Regions from separate parts of the Homo sapiens genome. Here all the other regions are linked to region 5. Evidence: promoter capture Hi-C in 16 types of primary human blood cells and fetal thymus (Javierre and others, 2016). All regions are on one chromosome and are shown on one strand. The core of a region is centred on a gene start or on the middle of the fragment in contact, and the rest is flanking DNA. Distances in the headings are between cores, read along the strand shown.

What was found. Contacts are between HindIII fragments. The CHiCAGO score rates a contact against its expected background, and 5 or more counts as called.
Region 1: a contact is called between the fragment with the promoter of SRBD1 here and the fragment with the promoter of SIX2 in region 5, in 1 of 17 cell types (megakaryocytes). The highest score is 5.0, in megakaryocytes.
Region 2: a fragment that was not itself captured here is called in contact with the fragment with the promoter of SIX2 in region 5 in 8 of 17 cell types (M2 macrophages, megakaryocytes, M0 macrophages and 5 more); the score reaches 7.9 in M2 macrophages.
Region 3: a fragment that was not itself captured here is called in contact with the fragment with the promoter of SIX2 in region 5 in 2 of 17 cell types (erythroblasts and megakaryocytes); the score reaches 5.4 in erythroblasts.
Region 4: a fragment that was not itself captured here is called in contact with the fragment with the promoter of SIX2 in region 5 in 2 of 17 cell types (monocytes and endothelial precursors); the score reaches 5.6 in monocytes.

What each region holds. Positions count from the first base shown.
Region 1 is chr2:45,609,833-45,613,090 of GRCh38, forward strand. SRBD1 (S1 RNA binding domain 1) reads right to left here and starts at 1,435. Exons shown (of 21, transcript NM_018079.5): 1 at 1,387-1,435. RefSeq lists an enhancer at 1,086-1,255. The HindIII fragment of the contact is 4,677 bases long and covers 1-2,818 here.
Region 2 is chr2:45,581,113-45,584,572 of GRCh38, forward strand. SRBD1 (S1 RNA binding domain 1) reads right to left here. Exons shown (of 21, transcript NM_018079.5): 6 at 581-698. Among named protein-coding and RNA genes, the nearest start is that of SRBD1, 28 kb to the right of the region's middle. The HindIII fragment of the contact is 2,593 bases long and covers 307-2,899 here.
Region 3 is chr2:45,558,221-45,561,419 of GRCh38, forward strand. All of the region lies in intron 10 of SRBD1 (S1 RNA binding domain 1), which reads right to left. Among named protein-coding and RNA genes, the nearest start is that of SRBD1, 51 kb to the right of the region's middle. The HindIII fragment of the contact is 3,389 bases long and covers 204-3,199 here.
Region 4 is chr2:45,539,052-45,542,528 of GRCh38, forward strand. All of the region lies in intron 14 of SRBD1 (S1 RNA binding domain 1), which reads right to left. Among named protein-coding and RNA genes, the nearest start is that of SRBD1, 70 kb to the right of the region's middle. The HindIII fragment of the contact is 2,821 bases long and covers 756-3,477 here.
Region 5 is chr2:45,007,403-45,010,897 of GRCh38, forward strand. SIX2 (SIX homeobox 2) reads right to left here and starts at 2,050. Exons shown (of 2, transcript NM_016932.5): 1 at 1,149-2,050. The coding sequence starts at 1,708. RefSeq lists enhancers at 745-1,518, 2,523-3,122. The HindIII fragment of the contact is 4,145 bases long and covers 1-3,495 here.

The DNA.
Region 1 (3,258 bases), core at 185-2,684, 600 kb after region 5:
TTTACTTGTTTATTGCTTGCACTGCTGTCAAGAGAGTAAATACCATGAAAGAAGGAAATGCATGTGCCTTATTCACTTCCATATCATAGAACCTAGCACTTAACAGATGCCCTACAACTATTAAATGAACATAATATGTACAAATATGGTCTCTACAGAGGAATATACATTTATTTTCCACCACTCTTAGGCAATGCCACACATTGCATTCATCTCTTTCTGAAGAAGTGATGGCACATAAGAATATTCCTATTCTTCAGTGACTTGGGATTTTTCCCTCCTTTCAAACTATCTTAATCACTGTAGGCACATGAGCATATTCCAAACCAATAATTTGGAGGTTGCTATGATGTTACTAAGGGAAGAGCCACTAAACTAGGACGACTGCAAATCAGGACAAAGGGGCAAAAGGACGTGCACACTAACAAATACTAAATTAAAATTGGAAAAAAAAATTTAAATTCAAGAAGGCAAACAAAGGAGGACAATTTCTTAAGAAGCACCTAAACAAGTTTCCATGAAGGACCAACAGAGTGCTTGAATGTTAGCAGATTCCCAAGTCACAAAAACAAAATACTAGAGCTGAAAGAACCTGAGATCAGACAGTCCCGCTATATTCAGAAATCTGAGACCCAATGAGGTGAAACAGTTTACTCAAAGGGGAAAGATATGTGGCAAAGGACTATAGCCCAGTGCCTGGAACACCAAGACTAGTCTCGTTTCCCATTCCACACACAATATGTTAATGACATGTCACGTGAGGGGTTCGAGGAAAGTTGCCTAGAGAGTTCCCAATTCATTCCTTTCCTCCGGTTACTGAGCGCCTCCTACATGCCAGGCGCACTACAGAAGGTGCAGTTGATTCAGACAGGGCCACCATGACCGTGAAAAGGGTGCTTCCTCTCCCACCTCCGATAATTTTAGGTATAAAAACAATCCAGGTAAATTAGCCGGGTGTGATGACGGGCGCCTGTAGCCCCAGCTACTCGGGAGGCTGAGGCAGGCGAATGGCGTGAATCCGGGAGGCGGAGCTTGCAGTGAGCCGAGATCGCTCCACTACACTCCAGCCTGGGCGACAGAGGGAGACTCCGTCTCAAAAAAAAAAAAAACAGGCTTGCCCAGGCTTTTCTATGTCTGTTATGCGCTAAGAGCTGCAGCAATTTGGCTGAAAAGAGGTGTCACGAGGTAGCTAGGAGGGGTTTTCGGGTGGTCGGTTGTGAGAGACCGCTGACAGTAAAATGTAATGAACTTCTCACTTTTAAAAAAGGGGTGTTATTGCCCAAATGAGCGCTCAGAACTTTTTTAATGGCCCCAAAGATCCCGGAGCCCGGACGCCGGGCTCTTGAGAACCCGCAAGACGACCGCCAAGGCGCACGCACAGCTCACCTTCCCGCCCGGCACGTCAGAAGACCCGAGATTCCGTGAGTGCCACCGCACCTTCCGGTTCCCGCCGGAAGTTTTTCAAACGCCAGAAGGTCCGCCTCGCTTCTTCCGGACCAAGTTAGCCACAGACCTCCAAGGCGCGGCGCTACCGAACGGGGCGGAGCCAGGCTGGACGGAGGCGGGGCTAGAGCGAGGATCCCGAGGGAGCGCCGGGGTGGGGCTGGTTCGTAGAAATGAAAAATGACTTTTTTTTTACGTGTTATTTACCAAGAACACTAAACTCTTAAGCCCACAGATACAGCCAAATAAATTAGATTATAAAAGTAGGGAAATAAGGCTGCTGTTGTCTACATTCGAATTTAGCAGATCAAAACCCCATGGATTTGTTTTAGAAAATTCTAAAAAGCAGCTTTCCACTGCTAATGACTTATTTCCAGGGACTCTGAGTACTGAAGAGCCTAGCAAGTTATTGAAATGACCTGTGACCGTGCCTTGTTGCAGATCTACCGGAAGTGAGCATAGATTTTACTGGATAATTTTTGTGATTGGGGGAAAAAAAAAAGGATTCTTTCTAAATTTAGTAAATCTAATCTTCTATATCTGAGATTGTTGGCCAGGAAAGATCAGTTTCCGAGATTGTTTAGGGATTTTTTTTTCCTTTTAATTAGCACAGTCGTATGTTGCCTTTAGTGATGGTTCCAGAAGGCCTAGAATTGTCTACTACAATCACAGTCTCCTTCACAATTTATGGTCCTGAAGAAATACTAGAGAACACCTTACCGTTCAGGATTGTGGGAAGAGAAACCAGATCATAGAAATCAACAACAATAATGTACTACTTACTATTCACCTACTTTTGATGTTGCATTTGCTACTCAGGTTTATGGTAAGGGGTTGTCTTGGTCAATTTTCTGCTGCTGTAACCAAATACCATAGACTGGTAGATTTATAAAGAAAGAGATTTGTTTGGCTTGTAGTTCTGAAGGCTGGGAAGTCCAAGACAGAGGGCATTATTGTTGTGTCAAAATATGATGGAGGGCATCATACTGGGGTAGGGGTGGGGGAGGCATGTGAACCCAATTGACTCCCGAAATAACTAACCCTCCTGTGATAATGGAATTAACTCATTCATGACCTAATCATTTCCTAAAGGTCCCACCTCTTCATACTATTACAATGACAAGTTTCAACTTGAATTTTTGAAGGGGACATTCCAATCATTGCAGAGGTAGTAAGGGTAAAGGTGAACTAATATACTGCAAAGTCTTTTGACATAAGTCCTGCCCTGGAGGAATTTACGACCAAGAGTAGGAACCAGATACAGCCAGAGGAAACAGACACCCAAGCAAAACAGTCTAGCTTCAAGGGTTGGGTATGCAGGTAGTAGCCACACTACAGTGAGGAGGAGAGTAAGAGTGGGCCAGCAAAGCATTGAAGCTTGACTTTCCTCTCCCCACAAGGGATTTTTGCCTTACAGCTGGGGAAGAAAAAAAAAATCACAAAAATAAATAGCCTGTTAAGATTTTAGACATCAGACATCTGGGGAAAATAAAATCTGAAGCAGGTTCTCTAAAATTAAAGTATGTAGGTAGTGGCCTACTCTAAAGGCCAATAAGGACTGTCCAGAGAATATTTCCCTTGGAATTCTATAAGAGAGTCACTCCCACTACACGCTGTCAAGGAAAATTTGTAATCACTTAAGTATAAAACAGGCCCTCCCACAAAAACTGCCTTTTCTGTCTAGGACATTGCCCAATCTATTGTTTACTTTTGGATCTCAAGTGCTGAATTCCAAGAAATTCATGGGTTTAGACTGAAAGCCTGGAATAATCCGGACACCCACCTGAGACTATGCAATAGGGTTTGGGAGTAATG
Region 2 (3,460 bases), core at 353-2,852, 570 kb after region 5:
TTCAGTCTTCATTCTGCCAAACTTCTCTGCTACACATAACTGCTGATCATGACCTCCATCTAAAACTCTCTTCCCTGCTGTTCCAGGGCACCATCATCTCCTGATTCTCCTCATACTTCTCTATTTTTTTCCTACCTCCTTATGCTCTCACATCCTCCATCCACACTTCAAAAGGTGGTAACCTCCAGTGGTCAATCCTGACCTGCTAACAAACACTTCTTGAGTTCTTCCATTCTCATGGTTTCACGTACCAACTACAGGCTGAAGACATCCACATCTGGATCTCTAGTTCAGCCCTCTCTGATAAGCTTCACGTTTGTATAATCTACTGTCCTTCCCTACTTGACTGGAAATTCCTTGAGACAAAGACTATGTATTTATTCATCTTTGTAAACCCAAGTGCCTAGCACAAAAAAAACACTCTATAAATATTTATTGAATAAAGAATAAATATTTTGTTGCATTAAATAATGGTGGCTAATGACGTTAGCTTTTTATTTCTTGGTGTTCTTTAATCATAAGAAGACCCAAATTGCAATATATTCAGGTATTACATTAAAAGATAAAAAGGATTCCTTACCACGTGTTCTAGTTCTTCAAAAGTTTTACAATTCAGCATGGCTTTTAACAAGCACTCAGACATCTTCCCTTCCTTCTTAATTTTCTGGATTGTACTATGAACTTTCTTTGCAACAGCCCTGAAAAGAGAAACTTTTGTAATATACCAAAACTGTATGTCAAAACTTTCTTTTCAAAGCTACCTCAAACTTACAGAAAAGTTGCAGGTAAAGTAAAAGGAACTTTATTGTCTCTGAACTGTTTGAGAATAAGTTAACATCCCTGCACTCCAACACTTTAGTGTGATTTCCTACAAATACAAATCTTCTACATAACCACAAAATAACCATCATTATCAGGTAATTAACACTAATATATTACTACCATCTAATGCAGAGCTCATTCAGGTTTTACCAACTGTCCCAATAATATCCTTTATAGTGGATTCAGTTAAGAATTATGGGTTACATGTAGTTGGCATGCAACTACAGTCTCCTTCAAGCTAAAACAATATTTTAGTCTCTCCTTGATTTTCTTCTCCTTGATAAGGCCTTGATGTTTTTGAACGCTACTGGACAGTTATTTTGTAGAATGTCCTGCAGCTTGGGTTTCTCTGATGTTTCCTCACAATTAAATACCGATGGAGCATCTTTGGCAGAAATATCATAGAAGTCATACTGTGTTCTTACTACACGTTATTAGGTGACAAATGATTTTGATTTGTCTCATTACTAATTAACTTTGATCATTTGATTAAGGTAGTATCTGTGGGTTTCTCCAAGACACAGGTACTCTTTATTCCTCTTGTAATTATAAGTATTTTGTGGAGAGGTACTTTGAGACTATATAATTATCCCATTCCTCATTAAACTTTGAATTTATTCACTGATTTATTTATATCACTATAGATTTAATGGTTTTTTATTTTACTTAGTGCTACAATCCATTGCTATCATTTATCTTAATGTTCAAATTTTTCCAGATTTGGCCAAAAGTAACCCCTTCAAGCTAGCTTCTGTGTCCTTTTGACATGTATCTGTCATTCTGCGAGCACTTCCTTATTCTCTGGCATATGATATTTCAGGCTTATCTTCTAGTTTCCCTGCCCCAGCCCTGGAATCAGAAGAATGATACTTAAAAACCAAGGTATAGGTACTAGATATGCTCATTGCTACTGGAGTATCACTGCTCAGGATGGGCACACCTAGCACCCATAATTGGTTTCCAAATACCATTCCCCACTAAAAAGAACCAGGATTCCATGTAGAAAAGTTGATTCCAGGAATCAATTTACAGGGATCACTAAACAACTAACGACAAAAGGAAGGGTGGGCACAGTAGTTCCCCCACTTTACAACAGGTTTTCACTGTGAATATACAATCCTGTTGTTACAGTTAATGCTTCTCATCCTATTGTATTACCTCCTATTTATAGAATCTGCCTAATAATGGTATTGCTAAAATGATGGGCAAAAGTTAGAGATGATAATATGATTTATTCAAAATGATCGATGGAAAAGAAAATTAAATCTACTTGTAAATTAAAAAAAAAAAACTAAAGGCAGAAGACTATAAATTAAAGAGAAGAATATAAATTAAAAAGAAGAATATGCAGTACTTAGATTACAACCTGTATGTCTTCTATAGTCATGGTAGCCCAAGACTGTTTTCAAGGGCTAAAGCCTACCAGGTCATTTTAACAAAAAGCCAATTCCTTTTGTCCTATTAGCCTGCATATAAGGAAGAAGAGAATTATCTTTAGAGAAAAATACAGAAAACTTTTCTTACTATCCAGAATCATACTCTTTAATTCACTTTTCAACAGTGAATTTAAAAATGTTTTACGTTGCAACCCAGTATACATACATATAGATGCTACATAATTGAAACATTTCATGAAACAATATTTGCCTTTACCACATAAATGTACTCTTGTATTTTCTATTCACTATTTCATTTTTTAAGTGGTATGACTTATTAAATTGGTTTTACTTCTCATGTAGGGGTAGCAATTAACAAATTGAAAATCAATGCTCTAGTTATAGAAAATGCTGAGCTCAAGAAAAAATAAAGATCATATCTCATTACCAGAAAGAAATTTCTGTATTATAGAAAAAGATCTCTTAAGTTCCAGTCAATGCCCCCACTTACTTCAAGGAATATTCACTCCTCTACTAATATTCAATGTATTCCCCTATTCATAGAAACCCAGAGAATGGAATTCTTTTGCAATAGAAGGGTTTTTTAAAGAAAAAGAAAATAATAATATTCTTGATATACAGCTCCTATTTGTCTCCCATACAACCAAATATTGTTAGACTACCCTTTAATTTTTTAAGCAAGCTTTTCTTGCTTGTGAGGCTTTCTCCAATTTCAGATCCAAAACCCTCAGACTTTCTTAATTACCTTGCCTTCAACCAAACAGAAAGCTTACTTCAGAATTTGCAAACTGCTGGCCTTCTAGGTGTGGTCAAGAGTGGTTTTGTTTGGCCTAGAAATTTGTTACGTAAAAACTCAAATTACCAGCTTCTTTTCAGAAACAGGAAGAACCAGCAAACTGGGCAGACAACCCTGCATGACAGTAATCTACTGGAGACGAGCAAGGGTTGCCCCTCTTAGACAGGGTTTGTAATCTCCAATTCTTATTCCCCATGCTTGATTATCCTAGCCTGGCTCTGGAACATTTGCATCTGAGACTATTTGATTTAGTCATTTATATTTTTACATTGGCAAATTGATTCTGCCTCTCAATGAAGTATAACTTTCCACATATTAGCACTTTAATTCTCCTGACACTAAAAGAACGTCAAGAGGTAGAAAAGTGAGATGCAAGTTCCCCCAAAATAACAGAAAGCTTGTCAAGCTTGTTATAAAAATTACCCTTAATACTTTTAAAATGGCT
Region 3 (3,199 bases), core at 648-3,147, 550 kb after region 5:
TTTGAAGGCTGAGGCAGAAGGATTGTTTAAATCCAGGAGTTTGAGACCAGCCTGAGCAACATAGTGAGATAATGTCTCTAAAAAGAAGTTTTCTTAATTTTTTAAAAAAAATTTCCTTAGATACGTTTTTATTTAGAGAGCAAATGCAGAAACTTAAATTACTGAGGTTCTCACAAACACAGCAACTATTTCAGCATCTAAAAAGCTTAGAAATCCTCTTCATACTTATCTTGTACTAGTAACATACAATTCCAAATGAGGAATTGTTCATTTGCTGAATCTGGACCTAAATATTAGTTTTAATACTAATACATTAGCTTTAAATTATTCCTTGTTATGCTAATTAACTTATGTAATGACAAGACTGCCATTTAAATCACTATTTGCCCTATTACATAGTTCTTAATATATTTATAGTGTGATAGTAACTATATCATCTACCTTATTGTTCAAGCCACACAATTATTTTTTTTTTTTTTTTTTTTTTTGAGATGGAGTTTCACTCTTGTCACCCAGGCTGGAGTGCAATGGCGCAATCTCGGCTCACTGCAACCTCCACCTCCTGGGTTCAAGCAATTCTCCTGCCTCAGCCTCCCAAGTAGCTGGGGTTACACGCATGCACCACCATGCCTGGTTAATTTTTGTATTTTGTGTAGAGACAGGGTTTCGCCATGTTGGTCAGGTTGGTCTCAAAGTCTTGAACTCCTGATCTCAGGTGATCCTCTCACCTTGGTCTCCCAAAGTGCTGGGATTACAGGCGTGAGCCACCACGCCCAGCCGCCACACAAATTTCATGCTTCACTTCACCTCTCCCTAACCAATCCACCCACCATTTAATCAGATACCTTGTCCTGCCCCTGTCTACCTCCTAAATATTGCCCAAATCTATCTACTTATTCCCTATTGCTACCACCCTAGTCTAAGCTACCATAATCTCTTGTGCCATATCTACTCTTGATTCCTTCCAAATAATTATCTACACTGTGGCCTGAGTGATCTTAAAATGCAATCTGATCATCACACTCCTGTATTTAAAATCCTTATTGGCTTCCCACCATCCTTAAAAGAAAAAAATCTTTAGCATACCTGAAAGCTATGTATGATCTAACCTGTGTCAACATCTCAATCTTCATTCCATGTCACTTCTCTTCCTTCTCCTTCTATCTCCAACCTACCTAGCTGTCAAGTCCACACTACTCAGGGCTCTGTTACAAGCACTTTTCTTCTTCTTACTACACTTTTCCTTCATAATCTCAACATACTCGTAATGATTTTCCCAGTGTTGTTCTCATTAAACTACGCTGTCATCATGGATAAGCAGTATATCTGTCTAATTTACAGGGGAATCTCCAAAATCTAGCACATAACTTGAATGGATAAGTACATACAGAAGAGGGTGAAGAAATAGGGAAAAAGAGAGTAAAAAAAGGAACTAGAAGATTCATCAAGTAAGCATTTCTAGTCATTCACATGTGCTTAAAGGAAAAAAAAAAGTTCTTTTGAGAATAATTTTTTAGGTCCTAGAAAAGTGTTTCAGCTCTTGGAATTATCTAAATGAAGAAAAAGTTTCAGGCCGGGCATGGTGGTTCATGCCTGGGGTGGTTCATCCCAGTACTTTGGGAGGCGGAAGTTGGTGGATCACTTGAGTTCAGGAGTTTGAGAACAGCCTGGGAAATATGGCAAAACCCCTGTCTCTACAAGAAAGAAAAATTTAGCTGGGTGTGGTGGTGCGCACCTGTAGTCCCAGCTACTCAGGAGGCTCAGGTGAGAGGACAGCTTGAAACTGGGAAGTCAAGGCTGCAGTGAGCCAAGATCATGCCACTGCACTCCAGCATGAGTGACAGACAGAGTGAGACCCTGTCTCAAAAAAGAAAAGAAAAAAAAGAAAAAGAAAAACTTCCAAACCTGACTGAAAATTATATTACTATGCCATAATGATGTAACATGTTACATTGTAGGCTAAATAATATTACAAATTTTTCAATTGGAGAACTAAATAAAATATAAATAAGCCATGGAAAAATAAATCACTGTAAAAAAATTCCTTGACATTTACTTAGTCTAAAGATAATAAATAGGTTAAAAGCATATTTTTTCTTTAACTACTGAGGACTGACTCTGATACTGAGTATTATGAATATTTACAGAAAAATAAGCCAGAAATTGTCTTTGTGATTTACTAAAACATTTCTAAAAAGAATTAGCACAATAATCCCACTACTTTGTAATAACAGATACCATCAAAGGCCTGTTCTTCACCAGACATTGTGCTATACAGTTACGTAGATTATCATTTAATTCTCTCAAATCTACAAGTAAAGTATTACCATTTTAAGGATAGACAAAACTGAGAAAGAAATTAAGTAGCATGCCCATAGGTGCAGAGGTAGAAAGTAATATAACTGGAATTCAAACTCAAATATATCTACTTCTTAGGAGTTTCCTCTATGAAACTATCTTAGAGTTTTGTCATATCTTAAATTATCTAATTTCCTAATTTTTTAAATCTAGCATTTCTTTTAGGCATACATTTCCTCTTTCCTTTCATTGGAATTTATTTGCTTATTTATAAAGGAAATAAGCATTCATAAAAAATGACAACTAGCCAGGCATGGTGGGTCACGCCTGTCACGCCAGCATTTTGGGAGGCTCAGATAGAAGGACCGCTTGAGCCCAGGAGTTCAAGACCAGCCTGGGCAACATGGCAAGACCTCATCTCTTAAATAAAAAAAAAAAAAAAAGTTTAGCCAGCGGTATGCACCTATGGTCCCAGCTACACAGGAGACTAAAGTGGGAGAATCACTGGAGTCTGGGAGATTGAGGCTGTAGTGAGCTATGATAGCACCTGTGTGCTCCAGCCTAGGCAACAGAGTGAGACCCTGTCTCTCAAAAAAAGAAAAAGAAAAGAAACTATATAGAAAAATATACACAGTAATATAAAGACACTTATTTGCCACTAGTGAAATCATACTATAAATAAATGCTAATTGTAAATTGTCTTTTTAACTTAGTAAGACATGTTCATATTTCAACTTCAGCTCTATTTCCACTTTTTCAAAATGGCTGCACAGAATTCCACCATATGGATATAACATAATTGGCTTAAGCAATTTACCTATTGATTAACATTTAGACTGTTGTTTTACTTAATGGTTGCTTAGTTAGTAGTATTTGGTTGTTAAGCAAGTTGATCCTTCAT
Region 4 (3,477 bases), core at 916-3,415, 530 kb after region 5:
CATTATCTATTTTTTTTTATGGTCTTACTTTGGTGTCGGAAAATAGCAAATTTTACATTTAAAGAAAATTTAAAATACAAAACCAATATGAGAAATGAGCTACCTGGATTCATCTTTCACTGAAAACAACTAAAAGACCTATCTTCTTAAAGAGATCTATGAGTTGGCAAGAAAGAAATTTTTTTGCTAAAAAAAAAAAATGAAGTATATGTGGGAACCTTGATTTCTGAAGCTGACTTTCAGCTGAGGGCATCTGCTGAACCAAGTGCATTTTATTTTCAAGTTTCATGGCCTCACAGAGCTTCACAGAACCAGAAGAATAAAATAGAAAACCCAGGATCCACCTAAGATATAGATGTTAACAAAAGATCCCCCACCTACTCTCACATATGTAAAGCTAGGACTCCAGAGTTAGGTTAAACCCTCAGTGTAAGAATAAAACAGAACTATAACTCACTATACTCTACCCCCAGGAGATCACAATGAAAATGGACTATCTCAAACTCAGTCACGGGCTGATGTAGCGGGGAACTACTGATGAGAATATGGAACTATAAGCCATCTGTCTGGTCTGCAGCCTAAATTCACACTACCTGGGTGGTCAGAAAAAAACTCAAGCCGAGAATTTAATTTAAGTGATCCCAAACTGGTAGTATCTAAGGGAGTGTAGCAGAAGCAAATGCAAATCCTCTTTGAAGCAACTTACCATCAGTCCAGGCCTAAATGAATTCCCACAAAGTTCCACCAAAATAAAAAGCTTACCTTAAGAACTGAACAAAAAAGGAAAGAAAGCATCACAAAGCAGAACCAGCAATTACAGCATATAGCAGAAATAAAATTACAAGGATTCTAGAATTATTACACAGATTGTAAAATGCAAAATTTAACATGGTTTAAAAAAAGACAGGCTTGAAAATATAGCCAGGAAAAAAGTGACAGAATCATCAAGCAGATTTGAAAAACACAGAACTTCTAGATGAAAAATAAAACTGAAATTAAAAATTGAATGGGCCAGGCATGGTGGCTCACGCCTGTAACCCCAGCACTTTGGGAGGCCATGGCAGGCGGATCATGAGGTCAGGAGTTCAAGACCAGCCTGACCAACACAGTGAAACCCTGTCTCTACTAAAAATACAAAAATTAGCTGGGCATGGTGGCAGGCGCCTGTAATCCCAGCTACTCAGGAGGCTGAGGCAGGAGAATCACTTGAACCCAGGAGGCAGAGGCTGCAGTGAGCTGAGATTGTGCTGCTGCACTCCAGCCTGGGCGACAGAGAGAGAGTCCATCTTAAAAAAAAAAAAAAAAAATTAAATGAGTGGATGTCAATTCTCCAAAAATTAAATTACAGACTTAATGAGTTAAAACTATAAAACTTCTAGTACAAAACAGAAGAAAATCACAGTAACCTTGATTTTGCCAAAATTTCCAGAATAGAAAACAAAAAGCAAAAACTATACCAAAAAATTGATAAATTGGACTTTCTCAAAACTAAAATTTTTGCCATTCAAAAGATCCTGTTTAAAAAAAAGTGAAAAGTCACAGACTGGGAAAAAATGTTTATGAAACATATACCTGACAAAGGGCTTAATTCAGAATAAATAAAAATACTCTTATTCAATAATCACAAGGAAAACAATCCATTTTTTTAAATGCAAAGATTTGAACAGATACCTCACTAAAGAAGATACATGGATGGCAAATAAGCAAATGAAGATGCTCATGATCATTAATCACTAGGAAAATGCAGATTAAAACCACAATGAGATATCACTACATATCCACTAGGGCAGCTAAATTTAAAAGGCTGACCATACCAAGCACTGACCATAACTTCATAATTCCATTGAGGATACAGAGAAACTAGTGTTACGGAATCCTTAGGGTGTCACTTTTCCAGCCAGACACCTCTGTGGCCAGTGGTGCCTTTGTCCGAGTTTTGCTCAGGCCCCCTGGGCTCGTTCCACTCACTCAAGCTGGCAGGCTGTGCTTGGCTGGTGCTACTGGCCCAGATCTCACCCTGCCAAGGGTGAGCCAGGCGTAGTGCGGTGAGCGGTGTGTGAGTGAGCACAGGGTCCGGCCACTGTGCAGAGCTAGGCGTGCCAGCTGTGGCAGGGCAGGTGGTGCCATGCAAGGCTGTGGCTGGACCAGATATATCACATGCAACTACCACTGCAGACACCCACATCTGGACGAGGGGAACACAGTGGTTCCTGGAAGGTGGGAGATGCCAGGAACCAGAGAGTCCCAAAGAGGGTGCCATAGCCCTGGCTTAGGGAGCACCTAGGTCTGGGCTCCCCAAAGGGCTGCAGCTCTTTTCTCCTTCTCAAGGTCTGCAGCATGGCAGGCAGGAGGGCATGTTTCAGCCCTGTTTGTGTTACAGCTGTTTCAGATCCACCATTTGGTGGAACCAGAGTTCTTGTCCCATGTCCAAGAAGAATGAGGTATGTGGACAACTGGAGGGTGAGCAAGGCAGAGAGGAACTTCACTGAGTGACAGAACAGCTCTCAGAAGACCCAAAGCGGGCAGCTCCTTTCCGCAGGCAGGTTGTCCCAATGAGTGTCTAGCTCTCAGCAGAGAGGAGACCCACAGTGGGTAGCCCCTTTCTGCAGGCAGGTTATCCCAATGAGTGTCCAGCTCCCAGTGGAGAGGAGATGGGCAGTGGGTAGCCCCATTCTGCAGACAGGTCTCCTGACAAGTGTCCAGCTCTCAGCAGAGAGCAGACCCAAAGTGGGTGGCTCCTTCCCATAGCTGGTAGTCCCAACATTTGTGTCAGTCTGGCTGAGTCCAGGGTTTTTATGGGCTCAGAAGGGAGGAATGCATGCTGATTGGTCCATGGGCAGCCATGGGCATGTCTGGAAAAAGTACCATAAGTTCACACTCCCGGCCACAGACTCCACCCAGAACTGGCAACCTGGCCTCCAGACTTCACGTAGGCCCTGGCTTGGAGGTGGGGGTTTCACTGAGACCTGCCCCTTGCTGCACAGGAATGTCTGCCTCCCACCATCAGCATGCATCCATGGTGCATGGGCTGTTTGTGCCAGGGGACACCTGTAGGCCTGTGCCAAGCTGCCCTTAGCCATCACCCCACCCCAGCCTCACTCCTGTGTTGGTTGGTGCCCAAAATCCTGAACAGGCTGAGGCAGCAGGGGCTGGTGTCAGCACTGCCTCGAGTGCAGGCACACCTGTCCAGGTCGCAACAGTGCCTAGGCTCGGCCACAACTTTGCTCTGTTCTGGAGCGGGTGCTGGGAGCAGGGAGAGGCCAGGGAGGTGGAGCAGGTACTTCCGAGCCTGCAGGGGAAGGGGCATCGCAGGCCCCTGAGAGTGCAGGGATGCCCAGGTCCAGAGCTGTAGCTGGGCAGCTGCAACTGCGCCCAGGAGCATGGGGCTCCTCTGCCCCACTAACCTGGTAGGAGGTGGGGCTCCCATCACCTGTGGAGCATGCAACCCAAGCCACAACTCCCCTGCTGCAGCCAGTG
Region 5 (3,495 bases), core at 800-3,299:
GGTAGGATCTCTTGTCACCAGCTTCGGGAGGGTTTTTCTTTCTGCTTTCCTGGGAGGGAGCTTCCCACAGGGCTGGCAGCTGAGACCTCACCACTGTGGAAACTCCAACCTCAGGGTCTCAGATACCTGGAAGTATCTGAGCCTGCAGCACTCCCCCTAAGATGTTTCTGGTTCAGCACCCTCACCTCTGACCCTGATCATTCAAACTCAGGGTGGAACACACCCCATATCACCAACCCCAGGTGTCCTGTTTTGCTCTTACCCCGGGCTGGATTCTGTTCCCATAATAAGTTTCTCTCCAGGTTTGAGGTCCTGAGGGGTTATAGGGCAGGCAGTGGCAAGGGCCTAATGATCAACCTTTAGGCTGGTTCAGGAAGTCCTGGTTTACCTGAGGACATCCAACTCCCAGCCCCTCTGTGCCTCTCAGCTCACCGCAGACATTCCGACCTACCCATCAGAGGTAGGGCCTAAGGAGAGAGGCATCAAGGGCCTGGAGTGCCAGGGAAGGGCGGCTATCTCTAGCAAGGCAGAAAACAGGGCATGCGTCTCTTCTCTCCCAGAACTGACACTTCCTCCCTTTCACCTCTGGATCCTTTCTAAGGAGATAAAGGACCCGCTCTCAACTCCATGTGACAACGAAAATTCATGGCCTGGCTTTTCCCCATCCAGGTCATTCTAGGGAAGTTCCAGCCCCAGTCCCGACCCCATCACACTTTGGCCTGGAGCTAAGGCTGGGGGGAAATGCCGGGAAGCACCACCAGCAAGAAATCTGCAAATCCCCTTTCATCTGGGCTCAAACCCCTCTGTCCTGAGGATGACCAGACCTACTGTGCCTGCCTCACAGGGGATACAGGCCCACAGTTCTGCGCTGCCCCGAAGCTCTCTGCTTCTCCACCCTTTTCCTCTAGCGACCGAGTAGTTAGTTGACAACTTCCTGAATTGCTCTGCCCGCTTTAGACAAATCCCTGCTCGCCGGGTCTCCGGCATAGAAAGGCCTAAGCATCGTCCAAGTCAGGCCGGGCTGCCGCTGGGCTGTGGCCGGGCCTGGGGGCCCAGTTTAGGCCTCTCCGGGGGACCGGCAGAAGCCCTGCGAACCCCTCCCTTGGGCCCCGGGGAGCTGGCGCCGAAGAAGGTCTACTTACTCGTACCTTTCCTTGGCCTCGGCCGCCCGGTCGCGCTGCCGCCGGTTCTTGAACCAGTTGCTGACCTGTGTGGTGGTGAGGCCCGTGGCCTCCGCCAGCTCACGCTTCTCGCGGGGTGAAGGGTAGGGGTTGTGCGCGTACCACTCGCGCAGCACGCTGCGACTCTTTTCCTTGAAGCAGTAGCTGGTCTCCTCGCCGTCCCAGATGGAGCGCGGCAGCGGGAATTTGCGGCGCACGCGGTATTTGCCCACGGCGCCCAGGGGTCGGCCGCGCAGCTTCTCCGCCTCGATGTAGTGTGCCTTGAGCCACAGCTGCTGCAGCTTGGCGTGGTTGTGCGGCGAGAACTGGTGGCTCTCCAGGATCTTGTAGAGCTCGCGGAAGTTGCCGCGGTGGAAGGCCACCACGGCCTTGGCCTTGAGCACGCTTTCATTCTTGTGAAGGTGCTCGCAGGCGGGCAGCGACCACAGGAAGCGGCCCAGCCGCTCGATGTTGCCGCCCTGCTGCAGCACCTCGCACACGCACGCCACTTGCTCCTGCGTGAAGCCGAAGGTGGGCAGCATGGACATGGTGCCGGCTGCGTCCCCGCCCGCCCGCGCGCGCCCTCACCGGGCCGCGCGGTCCCGCATGGGAGCTTCCTCGCCGGGCCGTCCGGGCCGAGACGCGGGCGGGGCTGGCCCCCTGGCCCGGCACTGGCCCCCGGTGAGCCCCGAGTCACTGCCGTACGTCCCCGCGCCGGCCGCGGGTCCCACGAAGCTCCGAACCCCAACGGCCCGCGCGCCTGGCCCAAGCCCTCGCCCAAGCCCGGGGGCCGCCCGGGGCGCCGCTCCGCATGCTCCGCGCCCGCCCGCCGTTCCCTCGCTCGCTTCTCACTCGTTCTCCCTCCCGTCTAGCTGGCTCTCAGCTTTCTTAATAATATTATTCTAAGCGGGCATGAGGCGCGGCGGCCCGCGCCCTGATTGGTCCGGTTATCTGACCCGGGGCCTGCCAGCGCCAGACAATAGTCGGAGTCAAATTATTCGCCATGGAGACGCTGTCAGTCACTGGTAACCCGAGCCTCGGCGGGCCGGGCGGCTCCCCCCGGCCGGCTCCGCTGACAGATCGCCCCGCTCCGCGCAGAACTGAGGGCGGCTCTACTGGAGCCTGGGGCGCTCTGAGAGCCTGGGAGGCGGAGAGGGGCCGGGTTGGGGCCGGCGGCGGCGGAGATTGACGGGGCGGATGCCCAAAGAGGGAGGGAGGAGGAGGACAGGAGAGCGGGGGGAGCGGGCGAAGACGAAAAGGGGTGGATCGAGGTGGGGAGAGAAGAGGAGAGAAGGGAAGGCGGAGACCGTTTAAGGGGGTGTCCAGGAGGAAGGGGAGGGAGAGGGGTGGAAGGAGACTCCAGGGGAAGAAAGTTTGGGCAGCTTTGGCTAGGAGAGGGCTCTGCAGCCTCGCCCAGACCCTACAGGGTTCCCCTTCTCCCCAGGTCACCGCGTCCCTCCCAGGCTCTCTGTTCACCGGGCACATTCTACCCCGGCGCAGGCCAGTGGGATGGGAGAGTTTGGACGTGCTCGGGTGCCGCCCAAAGACTTGGCTTTTTCTGCTGACAGCGCCCCACCCCCATCCTAGAAACTCTGGACTCAGCGGTCCTCGAGGGAAAAGGGGAGGGAGTAGACGAAAGAAATGGGGAAGATTTGGCAGTGGCCGCAGGCGGACGCCGGAGAATCGACTTCCCGGAGGATCCCGCCTTTCCTCCCTCTCCTAGCCCCGCCGGCTGCCTGGCGGCCTGTACCGCCCCAACTCTGCGCTCTCTGCTCCTCGCCGGGCGGGGACTCAGACTTAACCCCACGGGTCCCACAGCCCGAGGAGCGCCAGGCAGTTCCGTGTGGCCTCTATGGAAGCTGACTCCGGCCGGCAGCTGCGACGCAGAACCCCGGACGGCGCAGACCCGCAGTCTGCCCACCGGGGCGGGGGAGAGGGGCGACGGCAGGGACTCTAGGACGGTGGTGGGGCTTCCCCGGTGGGTGGTCGGGGAGGAGAACGGAGGCAAGATTCCCAGTCCTCCCGCTTCGCCGCTGGGGATCGGCTCGGCTCCTGGCCACTCCAGCCTGGGAACCGGCTCGCTGAGCTCCGGGATGAGGTGCTTTAAAAGGGGGTCCTGTTTTTTGCTTCTTTGTCAGGGTGCCAATGGAAACATGTGGTGCTGGTCCTGTGGGAGAAGGGCTCGCACAAAGGTGGGAGAACTGAGGATGGGTGTGTTCTTGCTCTACGTTTTGAAAAGCCCGGGGCTTAGCTCCTTCCCGGACATGTCCTTTCCACTTCCTTCAGTTTCCTCCTCTTCCCCCCTCAGCTGCTGCAGGCCAGGAGCTCCTAGGGC